Linked DNA regions of Homo sapiens: region 2 is linked to region 1. Evidence: promoter capture Hi-C in human tissues and cell types (Jung and others, 2019). All regions are on one chromosome and are shown on one strand. The core of a region is centred on a gene start or on the middle of the fragment in contact, and the rest is flanking DNA. Distances in the headings are between cores, read along the strand shown.

Evidence for each region. Contacts are between HindIII fragments. The study calls those that stand out against the background at their distance.
Region 2: a contact is called between a fragment that was not itself captured here and the fragment with the promoter of ZNF70 in region 1, in 1 of the 25 tissues and cell types used here (spleen).

What each region holds. Positions count from the first base shown.
Region 1 is chr22:23,746,204-23,753,552 of GRCh38, reverse strand. It overlaps ZNF70 (zinc finger protein 70), which reads left to right and starts at 2,441. Exons shown (of 2, transcript NM_021916.4): 1 at 2,441-2,842. VPREB3 (V-set pre-B cell surrogate light chain 3) reads left to right here. Exons shown (of 2, transcript NM_013378.3): 2 at 355-810. The coding sequence ends at 677. RefSeq lists enhancers at 1-655, 1,166-1,225, 2,066-2,125, 2,008-2,683, 7,223-7,349 and a silencer at 2,276-2,725. The HindIII fragment of the contact is 11,413 bases long and covers 1-6,452 here.
Region 2 is chr22:22,200,157-22,207,505 of GRCh38, reverse strand. It overlaps IGL, IGLV11-55 and the pseudogene LOC100419915. Among named protein-coding and RNA genes, the nearest start is that of VPREB1, 41 kb to the left of the region's middle. RefSeq lists a silencer at 6,057-6,351 and an enhancer at 6,166-6,975. The HindIII fragment of the contact is 6,097 bases long and covers 361-6,457 here.

The DNA of each region.
Region 1 (7,349 bases), core at 1,192-3,691:
GAGAGGGGTGCAGTTCTGCAGAGAAACGTGGGTGGGTAGCAGAGGGACCTAGAGGCTGCTAGTCCAACCTTCTGAGCTCTGGGCCTTTAACTGAACACAGATCCTTGAGGATATGGCACTAATGGAGATTTGGGGGCTAACTCCAAACCCCTCACTCACAAAGGGAGATGGAGGTCCAGATAGGGCACCCTAAGTCACACAGAACCAGGCCTCCTGCACCCCGTTCATTGCTAATCCCATAGCACTGGGCTATGAGCCCTTTGGGACTGGGAGTCTCCATGGAGTCCAACCAAGCCTTCACAGGGCAGGGGTGGGAGGGAAGGGGCTCAGGCTGAGTGGGTTTGTGTCTCGCAGTTTCCCAGACAGTCCTGGCCCAGCTGGATGCACTGCTGGTCTTCCCAGGCCAAGTGGCTCAACTCTCCTGCACGCTCAGCCCCCAGCACGTCACCATCAGGGACTACGGTGTGTCCTGGTACCAGCAGCGGGCAGGCAGTGCCCCTCGATATCTCCTCTACTACCGCTCGGAGGAGGATCACCACCGGCCTGCTGACATCCCCGATCGATTCTCGGCAGCCAAGGATGAGGCCCACAATGCCTGTGTCCTCACCATTAGTCCCGTGCAGCCTGAAGACGACGCGGATTACTACTGCTCTGTTGGCTACGGCTTTAGTCCCTAGGGGTGGGGTGTGAGATGGGTGCCTCCCCTCTGCCTCCCATTTCTGCCCCTGACCTTGGGTCCCTTTTAAACTTTCTCTGAGCCTTGCTTCCCCTCTGTAAAATGGGTTAATAATATTCAACATGTCAACAACAGCTATTGTGAGGGTCATAAGATCCTGGCTGAGAAAAATGACTGTGGTGGGTCTGGGAGTCGAAGACCCACTCCTGGGGTGGGGAGCAGTGTGCGGGGGAATGGGGATTCTGGGGACTGTTGTCAAAGAGGAAGCACCTGAGACTATTGGGGCATGGCCCAGACTCCCCCACCATGGCCCCCTGGGGGCTCAAACTGGTAGCCTGACCTTCCTGTGACCTGAGGAGCCGGAGGGAGAAAAAGGAACCAGCCCTTGCCGCCCCCAACTCTGCATGGCTGGTTATGGTCCAAGGGTTATGGCTCTAGGGTGGCTGGTCCCCATGGAGCTCAGGCTGTTGGCTTGGGGAGGGGCAGCCACTGCCTACCCCTTGGAGTCTGTGCCCAAGGCCCGACAGAGCATTAATGGGGCAGGAAGGCAGGTGTGTGTGGGTAGCATTGGAGGCACTCGAGCGCCAAGGCTGAGGGTGCTGAAGGCAGGTGGGCGGCTGGGGCAGAATCCTTTTTCCCAGGGACAGTGTGTTCTCCTGATGTCCTGTGATTGGGCCAAGGTCTGCGGAGGGAAGCTCTCCCACAAGCTGGGCAGCTGCACCTGAGGGGGGGGTGTCATGGGCAGAACACTGGGTGGAGGGGCCAGTCTTGCCATCAGCAGCAAGGAGGGGGCGGAGATTCCTTTTCTTTTTTTTTTTTTTGTTTTTTGAGATGGAGTCTCGCTCTGTCGCCCAGGCTGGAGTGCAATGGCACTATCTTGGCTCACTGCAACCTCCGCCTCTCAGGGTCAAACGATTCTCCTGTCTCAGTAGCTGGGATTACAGGCGCTTGTCACCACTCCCGGATAATTTTTAGTAGAAACAGGGTTTCACCATGTTGGTCTGGCTGAGTCTCGAACTCCTGACCTCGTGATCCACCCGCCTCCGCCTCCCAAAATGCTGGGATTAAAGGCGTGAGCCACCGCGCCCGGCCAAGGGGGCGGCCATTTCAAGAACACATTCCTCTTCCCTCCCGGTGCGCCTGAGAGGAGGCGCTTCATGTCGAAGTCAGCCCTGGGATGCAGAGAGTTGGGGGGCTCAGGGTCCTGGGATGGTCTCGCAGACACTCCTAGTTCTTCGCCTGCCCCTTCTCATCTCTATTTCTGTGGGGGCGGGGAGGGCAGACAGGAACAGGGCTACCCTTGAAGCAGGTTGGGGGAGGGGGATCCTAACAGGACCCCGGTGCCTGTGGACAGTGACAGGGTCGACAGCTCTGGGGCTCCACTCTCCTTTCCCTGAAGACCCCAGCTGCCTCAGTGGCTTCTGGCTTGCACCCAGCACCAGCGCAGATGCCCCGAGTGCCGGCGGCTCGAGGTCGGCCCGCCCGTCCGGACCTGTTTCCTCCTCTGCTCTCCTGCCAACGCCTGCCCATCTCTGTTTCCCCCACGTCCAGCACGCGCTTCGGGGACGGCCAGAGCCACCATGCCGACTGGAGAGACTCTCCTGATTCGGGTCCTTGTGTCCCGGGGCCCGGGCGGCTTCGCGCGGCGACAACCGGCGCGGTGGGACCACCGAGACGCCGGGACCTCCGCGCGGCCTAGAGTGGTCCCGGAAGTGCCCGCGGGCCGGGGGCGGGGCTCTGGGTGCTCGGGCGGCCGCGGGCTCCGCGTCAGCAGCTGCTGTGGAGCCAGGCAGCGTCGGCCGCGTCGGCCGCGGGTTGGAGCAGCTCAGGTGCGGCCCCGCCCCGCCCGCCTGCGGCCCCGCCCCGGCCCAGGTGAGCTGCCCCGCCCCGGCCCAGGTGAGTGGCCCCGCGTCCGCCGGTGTGACCTGAGTCCGCCTGACCACCTGTCCCTCCGGTGGCCCTGGGTGTGCGTGTCCCCAATCGCGGGGAAGCCTGTAGGGGCGCCACGTCGCCGCCTGGGCAGCGTGTGCGGGTCCGTGGCAACTCTTGGGCCCCCAGCCAGGAAACCTTGACTGCACTAAGAGTTTGCAGGGTGCCCAGGCCCTAGGGACTCTCTGGAGGATGGGATGACAGATGCAGGAGGACCCGGAGAAGGCCCCGACAGAGGTGGGAAGCATGGAGTTCCAGATCTTTGCATTTTCGGTCCAAAAACACTTATCATGTTGTGGGAGACAGATAAAGGGTTGCCAACTTTTTTCTGAGTGGAGACTTCAGGGTGTAGGGGCTATATAGTGGGAATGGAAAACCTCTACGGAGGGAAGTTTGAGAACACCAGGACTTAATGGGTGGGCGGAGGAAGAGTTGCAATCTAAAGATATCAAGAAAGAGAACTTGGAAGCCATGAAAATTGGGAAGAAAGCGAGGGTGGGGATGGGGTTGGGGGGTAGCTCAAAGCTTTCATGCACCTAGGTAGGCAATGTGGGCGGGTGAAGGGATATTGTCACATCTTCGTTTTTCAAGAGAAAGCCAGAAACCTACTGAGTTTTAAATATTGGTAACTAAGGAAAATGAACAGGAAAAGCCAAACTCTTCGAGAGCCAAACATAACATAGCAGGATCTTCAGGCTGCCAATTTGCAACCTCTGAAATGAAGGGTTTTGAGAAGGAGGTATTGGAGAGCAGTGCCAGATGGGGTGGGAAGGTGAAGACCGAGAAGAGAGGGATTGGCAATAAGGAGGTCATAGAATGCCAGAGCTGAGGTCCCAGCTGAAATCGGAAACTCGAAATTTGTCGTGGTGCCATACATAGTTGTATGATTTTTCTTGGCAACATTTAACAACTTAGGAGGAACTGGCCGAGAAGACTGGGACTTAGCGGCTAGTTGCAGCCGGACGAGGAGGTGAGGAGCATGGTGCTAGAGCGTGAGAGTTGAAGTGATGCGCATAGTATGGAGAGTCTAAGCTGGATGGAGAAGGGGTGGAGCTAGAAAAGGAGAACTACAGTAAAAATGGCTTGGATTTCATGAGGTCGAAAAGCACAAATTGAGTGAGAGAGCTGGAAGAGTTGGAGATTATGGGTTGCTGAAGAGGAGGGGGAGGGTGAGAGGAGTTGAAGTGATCAAAGAATTTTTGAAAATACTTTAGGGCTGGGCGAGGGGGCTCACGCCTATAATACCAGCACTTTCGGAGGCCAAAATGGGTGGATCGCATGAGCTCAGAAATTCGAGACCAGTCTGCACAACATGGCGAAAACCCATCTCTACAAAAAATACAAAAATTAGCCAGGTGTGGCACGTGCCTGTAGAGCCTGTATTCCCAGCTACTTTTTTTTTTTTTTTTTTTTTTTTTTTGAGACGGAGTCTCGTCCTGTCGCCCAGCCTGGAGTGCAGTGGCGCGATCTCGGCTCACTGCAAGCTCCGCCTCCTGGGTTCACGCCATTCTCCTGCCTCAGCCTCCCAAGTAGCTGGGACTACAGGCACCTGCCACCACGGCCGGCTTTTTTTTTTTTTTTTTTTTTTTTTTTTTTTTTGAGATGGAGTCTCGCTCTGTTACCCAGGCTAGAGTGCAGTGGCGCGATCTCGGCTCACTGCAACCTCCGCCCCCCAGGTTCAAGCGATTCTCCTGCCTCAGCCTCCCGGAGTAGCTGGGATTACAGACGCGCTGTAATTTTTGTAATTTTAGTAGAGACGGGGTTTCACCATCTTGGCCAGGCTGGTCTTGAACTCCTGACCTCATGATCCACCCACCTCGGCCTCCCAAAGTGCTGGGATTAGAGGCGTGAGCCACCGCGTCCGGCCTTTTTTGTATTTTTAATAGAGACAGGGTTTCACCGTGTTAGCCAGGATGGTGTCCTAGCTACTTAAGAGGCTGAGATAGGAGAATCACTTGAACCCAGGAGCCAGAGGTTCCAGTGAGCTGTAATCACACTACTGCACTCCATTCTGGAAAAAGAAAATACTTTAGTTCAGTGCTCTTTTTTTTTTATATCCAGTCGGTCTATTGGCTGAAAAATCATTTAAAAAAATCATTTCTGGGCTGGGCGTGGTGGCTCACACCTGTAATCCCAGCACTTTGGGATGCCAAGGTGGGCGGATCACCTGAGGTCAGGAGTTCGAGACCAGCCTGGCCAACATAGTGAAACCCCATCTCTACTAAAAATACAAAAATTATCCGGGCCTGGTGGCGGGTGCCTGTAATCCCAGCTATTCAGGAGGGTGAGGCAGGAGAATTGCTTGAACCCAGGAGGCAGAGGTTGCAGTGAGCCGAGATTGGGCCATTGCACTCCTGGCTGGGCAACAAGAGTGAGACTCCACCTCAAAAAAAAAAAAAAATCATTTCTGCTGGGCATGGTGGCTCATGCCTGTAATCCAGCACTTTGGGAGGCAGAGGTGGGAGGACTGCTTGAGCCCAGGAGTTCAAGACCAGCCTGGGCAACATAATATTATCTCATCTCTACAGAAAAATTAAAAAATTAGCTGGATGTGTTGATATGCCCCTGTAGTCCCAGCTACTTGAGAGGCTGAGGTTGGAGGATCAGTTGAGCCGGGGAGGTCAAGGCTGCAGTGAGCTGTGATTCTACTCCTGCACTCCAGCCTGGGTGACAGAGTGAGACCCTGTCTCAAAAAAAATTTTTTTTTCCAAGTAGAAATGAGTTCTGTTATGACTGTTCTGATTAATTTAGTTTTTTTTTTTTTTCTGAGGCAGTTACTCTCTAGATGCAGTATAAGGATAATTGTGCCTTTGTATAGAGTTGTGAAGATTAAATGAGGTGCCTTGAAGGACCTATTAGTGCCTAGCACAGAGTAGGTGCTCAGTGAATATGAGCTGTTGCTATCATTATTGTGTCACCTGAAGACTTTGCCTTTATCTAGCACAGAAGTTTCTGAATAGGGCTCTTTGGGGCTTCCTCAGGGGCCACATCTGGGAGGGGGAGTGCTGAGTGGGCTGTTCTAGCTTCCTTCCTTGTCCCTGCTAACGCGCCCTCCTTCAACTGGAGCAGCTCTGCTTTTGTCTGTTTTATTTTATTTTTATTTTTATTTATTTATTTATTTTTTGAGACGGAGTCTCACTCTGTTGCCCAGGCTGGTGTGCAGTGGCATGATCTCGCAAGCTCTGCCTCCTGAGTTCACGCCATTCTCCTGCCTCAGCCTCCCGAGTAGCTGGGACTACAGGCACCTGCCACCACGCCTGGCTAATTTTTTTGTATTTCTAGTAGAGATGGGGTTTCACCGTGTTAGCCAGGATGGTCTCGATCTCGTGACCTCGTGATCTGCCCACCTCGGCTTCCCAAAGTGCTGGGATTACAGGTGTGAGCCACCGCGCCCGGACTTGTCTGTTTTATTTATTTATGTCTCCTAGACCAGTGATCCCCAACCTTTTTGGCATCAGGGACCAGTTTTGCAGAAGACAATTTTTCCATGAATGGGTGGGGGACATGGGGGATGGTTTTGAGATGAAACTGTTCCACCTCAGATCATCAGGTGTTAGATTCTCATAAAGAGTGCACAACCAAATCCCTCGTATGCACAGTTTACGATAGGGTTCCAGTTCCTATGAGAATCTAATGCCACTGCTCATCTGACAGGAGGCAGAGTTCAGGCTGTAATGCTCGCTCACCTTCCGCTCACCTCCTGCTATGCGGCCTGGTTCCTAACAGGCCACAGACTGGTGCCTGTCCCCCACTCTGGGGGTTGGGGACCCCTGTCCTAGACAGTTGACTTATTTGACTAAAGTGTTCTTTGACCAAAAAAAGTGACAGTTCTAGAAAAACAAATGGCTTTTCCTCCATTTGATAATTTATTCAACAACTGTGTACATTGGGATTGTGCTTTTGTGCTGGGGGCTGGGGATTCTGAAATGAAGGAGCACAGTATTTGCCCTTAGGGAATTTTCAAGCTAACGATGGGGGCCTGAGATGGTCAAGAACCTGAGGGTGCAGAGAAAAAGGGACATTTGGACGAGTCCTGAAGGATGAGCAAGTGGCAGTCTGAGAATGGTCCTTACCTGTTAGGACCAGACAACAGCAGTGCAAATTAGTCATTGAGCTGGAAAATTAGAAGTGTTGGGGGGACCAGCCTGGGCAATACAGTGTGACCTCATCTCTACAAAAAGAAAGAATTAAAAAAATTAGCAGAGTGTGGTGGCATACACTTGCAGTCCCAGGAGGCTGAGGTGGGAGGATCACTTGAGCCTGGGAGGCAGAGGTTGCAGTGAGCCAAGATCACACCACTATACTCCAGCCTGGGCAACGGGCAAGAGCCTATCTCAAATAAAAAAGAAGAGGTGTATGGGGCAGACAGACAGGAGATGGATTGGAAGGGCCAGGTGTGAAGGAGTTGGGCTGTCACAAGATCCTAAGAAGGGAACCACCAGGCCAGGCATGGTGGCTCACGCCTGTAATCCCAGCACTTTGGGAGGCCAAGGCAGGCAGATCACTTGAGATCAGAAGTTTGAGACCAGCCTGGCCAACATGGTGAATCCCGGTCTCTACTAAAAATACAAAAATTAGCCAAGAATGGTGGTGGGCGCTTGTAATCCCAGCTACTCGGGAGGCCAAGGCAGGAGAATCACTTGAAGTTGGAAGGCAGAGGTTGCAGTGATCCAAGATCGTGCCACTGCACTCCAGCCTGGGTGAAAGAGTGAAACTCCATCTCAAAAAAAAAAAAAAAAAAAAA
Region 2 (7,349 bases), core at 2,160-4,659, 1.5 Mb after region 1:
TGCTGTCAGAAAAAAAGTGTCTCTTGCTCTGTTTCGCCTCTGACTTCTTTTGCTATTTAATATTATCCTGGTAATACCTCTTTTCTTTTGACCATGTTATATATTTAAGGTATTTTAGTCTAATTTTATAATTTTCGTCAATATGTGGATGGATATAAAAAGACAATTCTCAAAAGTGGAACCCCTCCTTTCTTTTTGGATGTTCTCCCCATACTACTGGCCTGAGGAACCCTCACGTCCCATTTCCCCACCATCACTGGGCCCTGATTCATTTTATTCGTTAAGAAGATCCCTGGATTTAATGGGGATTGGATTCACAAAGCCTAGGTCTCAGAGAACTTCTATTCATCCAACATCTTTCCAACCAAAGAACCAGAGACAAGCACTAGAAATGTGGAGTCAACCTGGAGGCTTGAGGCCTTCATGGCTCTGAGAGCTGGGTCCTTACTGCGGAGGGGCTGCCCTGCACCTGGGAACAGAGCAGCTCTTCCAGAGGCAATCTCAAAAGAAAGAGAAACCTAACTTCTCTGTGGGTTCAGAGCCCAAAGGGTGATCAGCAAAGCCAGGGCCAGATGTAGGGACATGTGAAGCCCATGAGGGCCATACCTGCCAAACTTCTGCTGCTCTTCTCATCCCAGCAGACAACAACGAGGGCTATCTTTGTTACTGTGGACATAGTGATTATGTTTTCATTGGGAGACCAGTAAGAAAAGGTGTCTTTTCATTGAATCCGTAAAGATAAACAGAAAATACCATTAAGCCCTCTGGTTTTAGGAGCACGTGTGATAGCATCAGCAAAAACCTGAGCTGGTCTTGGTAGTATTCACTCAAGCAGGCAGAAAAAGGGCAAAGATGGATCTGACAGAAGAGTTGGAAGGCCAATTTCTATCTAATTTTCTCATATGACAGTGACTGTTGGTGGTGACTGAGGCTGCTGTGCTGCCCCTGAATAAATGTCACCATCATCCTCATGCACTGACTGGAACCCAGAGAAAGTCAGGGAGGCTGAACTGCCGACTGGAAGAAGGGACCTGACCTGTGATTGCCCAGCATTAAACTTTTCCACCAGCAGGTGTCCAGAGCATTTCCTGGCTGAACCTGATAGCAGGATCCCTTACCCTCCATGCCACTGGTGGTTCCTGTGACTTCATCGAGATTCAACCTGAGGGTGGCTGGATCACCACAGGCTAAGCCCTGACTTCTAGCTGGAGACATAGAGAATCCTGGAAACTGAAGATGTCCAGAATAATGTGTACCCAGAGAGAAGAGAGGGGTGTGTGTGTGCGTGTGTGTGTGTGTGTGTGTGTGTGTGTGTGTGTGAAAGAGAGAGAGAGAGAGAGAGAACATGTGTCTTCCAGGACCCATTCCTGCCTAGGCAGAGCCTAAAGTGAGTGGCAGCCTGCCTCACGGCCAAAATGTGATCTTGAAATAGCAATTATTAAAAATGCTCAGGCAGCATCCTTTCAATAAGTACCTAAGCCTAAACTGGGGAGTACTGCATTGACACATTCATAGGCTGATCAGTGAAGGGAGAAACCACCTAAATGAGGATATTAACGTGGCATTTCTATGTCTTTCCTCATTGAATTAAACGCAAGTACAGGTTCTATGATCACTGAGCTGAGAATCTTTTCAAAGGAGAATATTCTTTCCAGTAGATTTAATATTATCACAAAATTAAAACAAACCAATTTCATTATTCTCACATTCTAAGACTCTGGTATATTTAAACGTTAAATTAAGAGCATGTTTTGAAAACCTCTCAATAGGGGCAGGAACACCTATATTTAAGACTCCTCTACCTTTACTTTAAAGAAACACATCACTTTCCATTTGGAGGGGAATGTCAGAATTCTATCAGCCACATAGATCTTTTTATAAAGTATGATTTTACATTTTATTTATTCATTCAATCAACTGGGAATTGCTGTATTGTACAAATACAATGTTGTACAAAAATCACAGAATGTTACAAAATAAAAAGTACAAACTGCATTACTTAATAAATGTGACTACAATTAGGCAAAGTGGCAATATGATAGATTTTAGGTGGGAAACATTAACACAACAAACCATACAATCTCTGCAGACATTTGTACATTATAAAATAGGATGATCCTATTTTGCCTTTTAAAAGAATTTAAAAGGAGTATTAAGACGGTATCTTCTGCTATGAAATAACTGCCGAGGTTGGCTCCAGGCATTTATGCCATTAGCTTTTAAAACTCTTAGGGGACTCCAACATGCTATATTGCAGTAGGTTTAGCTTGTCACAGAGTCTTATACCATGTTAAGATTACCTTAAAACAAAATCACAAACATAAATAAAAACAATTGAGATCACCCAACATTCTGCTCTAACATCAATCTAGTGCAGATTAGTCACTCTGCCATCAGCAAGCATCAGACTTTCATTCAAGTAAGACCTGGTACAATCCGTTAAAGAAGAAGAAAAAAAAAAACTTCCCACAATCCTTTGTTAAGTATTTCTCTCTAAAAGATTGACCATTTCTAAACAAATAATGGTTCCAAAACAACAAATCTATTTGTATCAAAATGTAATGGGCCAATCATTTGGTAACAAGAATGCATCAATATAAGTTTCTAAGAATTGTAAAATTCAAATTTCAACAGCGTAACTACCAAATCACAAACTCTGTTCAAAATAATAAATTTTATATAAAACACTTCTCTTAATTTCTGCCTGAAAGCTGCTTGTCAAAAGTAATGTACTGTCATAGATGAAGGTACACCATTTTTTAATGTTGTGTAAAAATACACTTTTGTAGAAAATAGACTACCAGGAATGAACAGATTTACACTGTGAGAAATTAGCTTTCAAATTAAGCAGTGCTCACTTAAACAGAAAATTACAGATGCAGTAAAATCACCCAAAACTATCATGCAACATCATTTAGGCGCCCAGCAACTTTTAGTTCCGAGAAAACATTTTAAAAGATGATTATGGCGTTACACTCACAGAAAAGCTATTAGGAAGTGCCAGCTGCGGTGGCTCACGCCTGTAATCCCAGCGCTGTAGGAGGCCGAGGCGGGTGGATCACGAGGTCAGGAGATTGAGACCATCCTGGCTAACACCGTGAAACCCCGTCTCTACTAAAAATACAAAAAATTAGCCGGGCGTGGTGGTGGGCACCCGTGGTCCCAGCTACTCGGGAGGCTGAGGCAGGGGAATGGCGTGAACCCAGGAGGCGGAGCTTGCAGTGAGCCGAGGTCGCGCCACTGCACTCCAGCCTGGGCAACACTGCGAAACTCCATCTCAAAAAAAAAAAAAAAAAAAAAAAGGAAAGAAAAGCTGTTAGGAACTTTACAAGTGTTATTACCCTGATTAGAGTTCATGTCATTCTCCAAGCACAAGTTCTGTATGCAATTTTCCCAGGGTGTAAGGTTTTCAGACATTTCAAGGGTAGGCATTTTATTCAGAATATGTGGCCCCAGAGTGAGCAAGTTATTCATTGCGTTGCCTTTTGCTTTTGAGTCTGTTTGCACCAGTTGTCGTACTTGGTTAGGATAGGAGTGATCAAATACTGCATCCTAGTGCCCGTTACTGAGCCAACTGAGCCAAATACTAGGCTTTAGGCAATCCTCTGGGCCCAAATAATGAATCATGGTAGATAGACACTGTGGGCCTCTCCAGCCTCCCTCTAGTAGTTCAGTGCTATTCACATTCAGCATCTACCCTATGTACACAGGGTACCCAGCCACGCCCCGTTTTGGGCAGCCGCGATAATAAGCTTCCCCGTGTCACCCTCACCCAGGGAGCTAAAGTGGTGGAGACGATCGGGATGGGGCGCACCCTCCGCTCCGCAGCTCCTGGTGCAGGCTCGGGTCTAGCACTGGGTCTTGCTGACAGCACCGTAGAGGCCGTTGCCATGGGGAATGATGTGGAATCGGTGCTGATTCTTCTGCGTAAGCCCATGTCCTGCTTCTCGCCTGGGCCAGGTGCAAGGCTAGCTTCTCCTGTGATCCGACCTGGAGAGAACCACCTTGCTGGCGCCGCTCTGGGCAGCCTCGCTGCTGCTGGTCTGGTCGGGGAACCTCAGCCTCTGGGTGGGGCCTTAGTGCAGCGTCTTCACCTGCATCTTCGCCGTGTCTTCTCTCTCTCCCAGCCCCGCAGGCTCATCTCCGCCATGTGCTCTTCTCCTGGTGGACCCTGGCGAGGATCCGGGCTCCCCGGGGGTGATGCAGCCTCCATCCTGGGTGGCGGCCTGGGTTTGGCGCTGCTTGCTCAGGGGGAAGTTTCTATCAGGCCCCTCCCGAGCTGCCGCTAAGCCGCGGGCTCCATGCAGGGTAGTCGGGCGCAGCAGCTCCTCCAGGAGCCAGGTGGAGGAGCCCTGCCAAGGCAGGCGGGACTGGGCCATGCACCAGGAGCCTTGCAGCTCCCAGACCCATGCAGAGATCCACATGGATCATCTCTGTCAAGTTAAAGAGATAAAACAAAACTAAACTAACAAAACCAAAAAAAAAAAAAAAAAAAAAAGAGGTCGGGCACGGTGGTTCACGCCTGTAATCCCAGCACTTTGGGAGGCCGAGGACGGCGGATCCCGAAGTCAGGAGTTCCAGACCAGCCTGACCAACATGGTGAAACCCCGTCTCTACTAAAAAATACAAAAAATTTAGCCAGGCATGGTGGCGCACGCCTGTATCCCAGCTACTCAGGAGGCTGAGGCAGGAGAATCGTTTGAACCAGGGAGGCTTAGGTTGCAGTGAGCCCAGCTCACTGCACTGCACTCCAGCCTCGCTGACAGCAAGACTCTGCCTCAAAAAAAAAAAGGAAAGAAAAGCAATCTTAAAAATAAAACAATAACAAACAGTGAGAGTCATCCTGCAGAGCTGCCAGGGCTGTTCACCTATTCAACCCATGGTAACCATTTATTCTAGAGGCAGGGCAGAATTGCTGGCTACTGGTGGGAAGACGGTAATGTCTGCTGACATTTTATTTCATATATTATACATATACATGATACATAATTTTATATATACATGATACATAATTTTATACAACTCTTGTATATAGTGGTATTATGTATTATGCCATCTGGATGTATTTCAGCTGTTTCACAACTCTTTTACTAGTGGAAATTGGTTAGTAATGTTAGTATTTCTTAGTATTGGTATAAGTTTTTGTGTTTTGATTTTAGCTGCTTAGAGTCACTATGGGCATTATGTGAAAAAAATGGGAGAGAGTTATAATGTGCCACCATTTTTAACAACAATCCAGTATTTAATGTGATTTTATTAACCACTGAAGTTCTTAACCAGTTCAGTAAAAATGACAAGCTTAAAACCTTGGTTTTTGTCCGACTTCCTCATCTGTCTCACTGTGATTAGCACTACTTTCGTACACCTGGCAGTAATAATCGGCCTCGTCCTCAGGCTGGAGCCCAGAGATGAGCAAAAACGCTGTGTTACTTGAGGTCTCCTTGGAGCCAGAGACTCGACTGGGGACCCCAGGTCCCAGCTGCTTGTCTGAGTCTGAGTAGTGATACAGGAATAACCTGGGAGAGCTCCCTAGCTTCTGCTGGTACCAGAACATGTTTTTACCACCAACACTGAGGTCACTGCTCAGGGTGCAGGGGAGTCTGGCTGTTGCTCCCGGGGATGCAGACAGGGAGGGCGGCTGAGTCAGCACGGGCCGGGAGAGGGAACCTGCAGACACAGACACAGCACAGTGAGGAGCAGGGTCAGGGCGCAGCTGCTGAGGGATCTGAGCCATGAGGGACAGATCAGGCTGGGGACCACCCTGGGCTCTGAGCCCTGTCCCTACCTGTGCAGTGAGAGAGGAGCAGGAGGAGGAGAGGAGTCAGGGCCATAGTGGACACAGCTGCCTCTGAGGCCACAGACCTAGGGGTGGGCTGCCCCAGGCCTCTCTTATCCCAGCGTCACTGGGCTCACAGAGGAGGGGCTGACCATGCAAATGTGTTTCCCCATTGCCTCTCCCGCAGGTGCACTCGCAGGGACCAGACCCTTGGACAGGGAGGCTGGCATGAAGCAAGAGTTTGCCCCACGGGTGGGACCAGAGAAAGCAGCAGCTGCTGGGACCACACACAGGGTCATGTGTAGAGGACTCTGCCAGGCACAGATGAGACAAGGCTGCAGAGTCCCAGGAGGAAGTGAAGGAGCAGCCCTGGGCCTCTGTCAGTTGAGGGCTCCCCAGCTGTGAGCACCTGTCCTGCAGAAATACACAGAGAAGTTCTCACCGCGCCCCCTGCTGGTCTGCAGGCAAATTTCTCCTTTTGCAATGATCCAGAATCTTCCCTCTGCTTTGTTTCTGTAACTCTTGTCTTTCAAACATGCAGGAAGAATTCCTACAGGGATCAGTGGAGCTGTGGTCTTGGTGCCACCCCTGACCCCGGGCCTCCCTCTGTGGGGCAGGGGCCAGCAGGGGTGGACTGCATGTAATCTTGGTCCAGGAAAGCATGTGACCTGCCCTGGAGCTGAGGACACAATGCCAGGGTGGAGCACCAAGACGATCTCTTCACCAGGAGGCTCTTACTCAGGATGCTGCTGTGACTAGGAGTTCACCAAGGGGAAACACACCATGCAAGATCTCAGGCCCTTCCTGAGGAAGGTGCTGGGAGGAGACACTGAGGCAGACACTGAGGTGGGGGCTGCAGGAGCATATGGAGGGTGGAGGGGGCTATGGGCCCAGGTGTGCAGCAGGGAGGATGCACAGGGCCCTCAGGCTGATTCTCCTCCATCTGCTGGCTAGAGGGCTTGACCGCGGCTGTGCCTGTCATCAGCTCTCCTATTAGAGACTCAGCTCTGGGGAAGTTCCAGGACAAGTTCTAGAACCTGAGACAGGAGATTGGGCAGGGGACATTCCTGGGAGGCTGGAGAAACAGGATGGCAGAGAAATTAGGGAAGGGGAGGAGTGGCAGGTGTCTCTGAGGTAGGACACATGGACAGGGATCACTGAACCCCAGGCTGTCAGAGAGCAGGAGATGGCCCAGAGTGTGTGGTGGGTAGAGGCCGACTCTGAGGGAAGCCTTGATGCCATCACTGCCACAGGCGGGGCGGGTGGAAGGGCAGGGCTGAAAGCTATGGTAGGCTTGGTGTACATCTGTCCCACTGTGACCATGGCATGACAGTGTAGAAACAAGTTAGCTCAATTCAGAGGCAATAACAGCTGCAGGGACTCATTTTCCTCCTGGGTAAAGAAAAATGCAGGTCTTAAAATAACCATGTGACAGGAGACTCAGGTTGCGTTGTTATTCATTCATTCATTCATTCATTCATTTATTGACCCATTTCCCATTTAGAAAAAAAAAAGTGCAGCTCGTTGCCAGCACTCATTTCTTGGGCAAATGGGAAATGGGTTCAACACATAT